2 separate regions of the Homo sapiens genome follow, and region 1 is linked to region 2. The links are contacts of gene promoters, found by promoter capture Hi-C in human tissues and cell types (Jung and others, 2019). All regions are on one chromosome and are shown on one strand. Each heading gives the region's core, a stretch centred on a gene start or on the middle of the fragment in contact. The rest is flanking DNA. Distances are from core to core; before and after follow the strand shown. Region 1 overlaps LOC124903356 (a long non-coding RNA gene). Region 2 holds the start of PSMC1 (proteasome 26S subunit, ATPase 1).

The links. Contacts are between HindIII fragments. The study calls those that stand out against the background at their distance.
Region 1: a contact is called between a fragment that was not itself captured here and the fragment with the promoter of PSMC1 in region 2, in 1 of the 25 tissues and cell types used here (lymphoblastoid cells).

What each region holds. Positions count from the first base shown.
Region 1 is chr14:89,024,462-89,027,161 of GRCh38, reverse strand. It overlaps LOC124903356 (a long non-coding RNA gene), which reads right to left. Exons shown (of 2, transcript XR_007064297.1): 2 at 1,353-1,670. Among named protein-coding and RNA genes, the nearest start is that of TRA-AGC15-1, 47 kb to the right of the region's middle. The HindIII fragment of the contact is 6,187 bases long and covers 1-2,700 here.
Region 2 is chr14:90,255,178-90,257,877 of GRCh38, reverse strand. It overlaps PSMC1 (proteasome 26S subunit, ATPase 1), which reads right to left and starts at 1,325. Exons shown (of 11, transcript NM_002802.3): 1 at 1,278-1,325. The coding sequence starts at 1,280. RefSeq lists enhancers at 622-1,149, 1,035-1,274, 1,150-1,679. The HindIII fragment of the contact is 25,675 bases long and covers 1-2,700 here.

The DNA.
Region 1 (2,700 bases), core at 200-2,699, 1.2 Mb after region 2:
GTCCGGGTTCTGCGTCTACTCTTGGATCCGGCAGGTGCGGGAGGAATAATGGGCAGCACCCGAGGAGGGTGCCCAGACGAACGTGGATAACGGAGACGGGCAGCAGAGAGCTTCCCGAGCTCCTGTACCCAGGCCTTGTCTTTGGGCAACAACTGCCTCGCAGGTCCCAGAGTGGCCTCAGGTCCCCGGGTCGCGATTCCAGAAATCATCTCCGGGGGCCCAGCACGGACACGCTCCAGACCCGTGAGTTCCCCAGCGCCGTGCCGGGAGGTCAGGGGCGCTGAAAGAAGGAAGAATTCAGCCACCTCTCAGCATCCCTGTTACCTCGAGGACGCGCCTCTCCGCCAACCCCATCGTGGGCTCTTGCTCGCTGAGGCTCACCCTGGGTCAGGCACTGCGCTGACCCCCTCGGAAAAGAACCTTATGAGCATTTGACAATTTAGAGAGGAGTAAAATGAGGCAGAAGAGACTGAGTAATTTGCCAAGGTCACCGATTAATAAGTAACAGACGGGAACACAAGTCTATCTCTCAAGCCCATCGCCGATGGTTGAGACACAGCCTTCGGGTCTCTGTTGCTTCTCCACCCCCAGCCTTCTCCGAGGCGAGCTTATTTATTTATTTATTTTTATTTTTTGAGACGGAGTCTTATTCTGTCGCCGAGGCTGGAGTGCAGTGGCGCGATCTCGGCTCACTGCAACCCCCGCCTCCCAGGTTCAAGCGATTCTCCCGCTTCAGCCTCCCGAGTAGCTGGGATTACAGGTGCGCACCACCAGGCCCGGCTAATTTTTGTATTTTTAGTAGAGACGGGGTTTCACCATCTTGGGCAGGCTGGTCTTGAACCCCTAACCCCGTGACCCACCTGGCCTCTCAAAGTGCTGGGATTACAGGCGTGAGCCATCGCGCCAGGCCAAGGAGCTTTTATTGAGCGGAGTCGGGGAAGGCTGGGGATTTGGGAAGAGAACTCACATCTAACCAGAGCATGGGACTTCCCACTGCGCCCTGTGGCCGCCACGCCCAGGCAGGAGCTCCAGGCTGCATCCCTGTCTGTAAAATAGGAACGCAGGAGGGTTCCTGCCGCCTGTCTGTGACGCACGTCCCCTTCCTGCAGCCTCCCATCTTGACAATTTCAACTCTCTCACACGGAGGAAGACAGGCAGGAGAGGTTTCCATCGAGAGCCTGACTTTAATTATCCTGCGGGCTGGGAGGATTCTGGGATTGCCCATGGGGATAGTGTTCATGATTAAATCCACTTAATCTGGTGCAAGTTACTTCCAACTTTCTGAATCAGCTCTCTTGTAATTACTAATAACAGCGGATGACTTTTAAAGCACTCATCAAGTCTAAGCAGAATTCAAGATGAACAAATTTAGTGTTTACAAAAATATTGCATGTGGTAACATTAGACTCGTTGTCCATATAAGGAAATTGAAACACAGGGAAGTTAAGTAAGCACAGAGAGCCAGTGGCAAAGCCAGGAGTCACACCCAACCATCCAGGCTCCAGAGACCCCTTTAGCCGCTATGCTGCTGATGAAGACAAGACACCCAGAGCCTCTCTCCAGGTTTTCTGGAGTGCAGAGAGAACAAAGATGCACCCTCAAGGAGACACCATTTTTGCAACCGTTGTATCATAGTCCTCAATTTGTAGAACTAGGAGATTTTCTTCATACTGTTCAAGAGAAAGAAAAAAGGAACTTAAAAAGTAACTCTCTTTTGTGACTGTTCCTGAGAGTACTCTAAGGGAGGAAGATGTTCTCTGTGCCTAGAAGTAATAACATTTCATCATACAAAGATATATAGAGACCAGTATAAAGTCCCTGTTATCACCTCCTAAACACTTCATTCTTTTTATTCCGCATGGAAATATGCTTATGTTTTGAGAAAAGATGCCCATCTTTTTACAGCTTTTAAAACAGCAAAAGCAAAGACACCAAAATTTTGTGTATTTATGTGTCCCATAGCGTGAACGGTTAGGTTGTGTGGCAGATTGTATTTTCCAAGAGTGGCCACCACAATACATCACATTCCATATGCTCTTCTTAAAGTGTAACTGTGACATCCCTTGAACCTGGGTGGGTCTGGGCTGACTTCTTTGTATCCTCTCCCCTTGAACTTCAGTGAACTTTTGTGATCAGTTGATTGTGGCAGAAGTGATGATGAGATCATAAAAATGCCATGTGCATCTGCCTTGCTGTCTTGGGACACTTGCTCCTGGAACCCAGCCGCCATGCTGTGAGGAAGCCAAGCAGCCACATGCAGCAGCCACGAAGTAGGCGCTCTGGCCACAGTCCCAGCTTAGGTCCTAGCCAACAGCCAGCATTGATCCCCAGATATGGGAGCAAGTGTGTCCCCAGGCAATTCTGGCCTCCAGCTTTTCAGACACTCCAGCCAATGCCGTATGGAACTGAGATGAGCTGTTCCTGCCTAGCTCTGCCCAAATTGAAGATTCATGAGCAGAATAAGCAATTATTGTTGATTTAAGCCACTAAGGTTGGGAGGTTTATTACTTGGCAATAAGATGACCAGAACAGATTCTCCACACTTTTTTCACTATCGTGAACTGTTCTGCAGTGAGCTTCTTTGAGCATATTGCCTTCTGTACATACCTGATGGTTCCTCTAGGAAGACTTCTAGAAGCAGAATTGCTGAGCCACAGTATAAACCTCAAAGGGGATAGAGCAGTTAAGATGAATTAACAA
Region 2 (2,700 bases), core at 76-2,575:
TGGCTCACGCCTGTAATCCCAACACTTTGGGAGGCCGAGGCGGGCGGATCATAAGGTCAGGAGTTCAGGACCAGCCTGGCCAACAGAGTGAAACGCCGTCTCTACAAAAATACAAAAATTAGCCGGGCGTAGTGGCGGGCGCCTATAGTCGCAGCTACTTGGAAGGCTAAGGCAGGAGAATCGCTTGAACCCGGGAGGCGGAGATCGCGCCACTGCACTCCAGCCTGGACGACAGACCAAGACTCCGTCTCAAAAAAATAAAAATTAAAATTAAAATAAAAAAGACCTCTATGAGATCTGGCCTTCTTGCCGTTCATGATACAGGTTAAACATTCCCATCTCAGGTCCTTTGCACTTGCTGTATCTTCTGCCTTGACCACATTTCCCTCAGACATCTGCAGGGGTTACTCCCTCAATTTCGGTCCGCTCAAATTTCACCTCCTCAGAGCTACCTTCGCTGACTCTATAAAAAGCAGCCACTCCTCCAAGCTATCCCTTTCTATACAATAACCATACAACAATGACCACCCCACCCCTGACATCATATTACATATTTCTGATGATTGTCTGCCTTCTGCTCTAGAATGTACGCACTATGAAGGCAGGGACTTCAATCAATCCTCAGTGTCTACAACAGAAGCTAGCCAAAAGTTTAACAACAACAACAAAACACCAAGTGCTCAGTAAATACTTGTTTAGTGAATTGATGAATAAATGCTAGCTGTTTTTATTATTACTACTGCACCACGGGCCCTTTCCGTCTTAGCTCCGCCTGTCATAACAACGTCTTTAAGGCCTCCTTCAAATGCCCCCAGCTCCGAAAGGCCTTCCACGACTCCGCGCTCAACTCCTCAGGTGGAATGAATCCCACCCTCTTCTCCAGCACCCTTCACCTGCCCGACTCAAAAAGCATTTTTCCCGGTGACTCGAGGAGGCGCCCCCGAAACTCCCAGCGCCGATCAGCAAAGCCCTGGTCGGCGGAGCAGCAAAGCCAGCGGCCTGATCCGTTCTGCCGCCCCACAAGACCACGCAGGAGACCCTCTCTCTGCTCTGAGCCCCGGCCCCAGGATCCCCGGGCAAGGCCCGTTGGTCGGCCCCGGCCCGCGGTGGACATGAGCGCGGTCTCTGGGAGCCTCCACCCGCCGAGAAGATCAGGCCGGCAAAAGGAGAAGAGGGCTGTCCCAGTTCCTCGGGCAGCCGCCTCTTTCTCTCGCCTCAGGCTGCTGAGACCCCATCGCACCGCGACGACCAGCGGAAAGAAACCCTTAGTCACTCACCATCTTGCCTTGGCCACTTGAGCTGCCGCTGCCGGAAGTTCCTCCACCACTGCGGCCCGCCAGAGGCGGAAGTCGTTAGGGACGCTACGGAAGCTGATAGGAACCAAATTCTGCGCTGACCAAGTTGTGCTCCAAGGGCTTGTGCGGGCGGTCTAGGGCAACGCAGCAGTTTATAAGCATAAAGTGAACTTTATAAATATTTTACTTGAAAGAAATTTTTGAATACCCGTTATGAGGCGCTTGTCAACAACTTAAGACAATGACCCCTACTGTCAAAGAATTAGGACAATCGTGAAAATATAAAATATTTAAATTATGCAAAATTTATAACTGGGAAGAACTTTATGGTTCTAAAAACTGGAATGGTATTTGGAACTGGGAAGTTGACATATACATTTGCACAAATATTTCAGTTATTATTCAGCTTCTGGAATTTAACCTGCACATCTGGGAGTATGTGTGTAACGAGTCTTCTAAACCTGTCTTTTTCTGATGACCTGTGACTTGTGATGATGCCAAATGTCTTAAATTCCTCATCTTGAAGCTGATTGGTAAAGTTCCTCATTTGTTACACCCTCCAGGACATCAGAAAAATGGCAACAATCCCTTCTGTTTCTGGAAATTTCATTAACAAGTGCTCAAAATACTGCATCTTTCTGAACTGGAGAAATGGATGATTTTTTTTCTGCTCCAGATTGATTTAGGGATTTTAGTTGTGAAACACTAAAAATATTTCCCTTATGAACACACAACAGGTATACTTCTTCCTTTTCATCATCACTGCAACACGGTAATAGAAAGTCTTAGCACTATCGACCTCTGTTAACAAATCTGGCATCTAGTGTACATGACACATGAAATCACACGATAGGACAGTATCACACATAGGATAGAGATGGTGAAACTCCCATCTCTACTAAAAATACAAAAATTAGTCGGGCATCATCGTGGGCATCTGTAATCCCAGCTGCTTGGGAGGTCGAGTCATGAGAATCTCTCGAACCTGGGAGGCGACGGTTGCAGTGAGATCACGCCCCTGCACTCCAGTCTAGGTGACAGAGCGAGACTCTGTCTCAAAAAAAAAAATTAATAAAAATTTAAAAAACAAAATAAATATCCTTTCCCTAATGCATTTTACAAGAAACAAGTAAATAGTAAAATATATAGTATGCCACATAGTGGTAAATGCCATAGGAAAAATTAATGCCTAGGAAAAATGCCTAGGATTAGGAGCATGCAGCAGTGGTGGGTGATTTTAACTTTAAATTGGATGATACTTGAGCAAAAGCCCGTAAGGCATGAAGGAGTAAGCTATTCAGATATCTGGTGGAAGAGCTTTCTAGGTAGAGGGAACAGCCAGGGCAGAGGCCCTGCAGTAGAAGCTGCAGAGGATGGAGATTAGAGACACCATATAGTGAAGAAG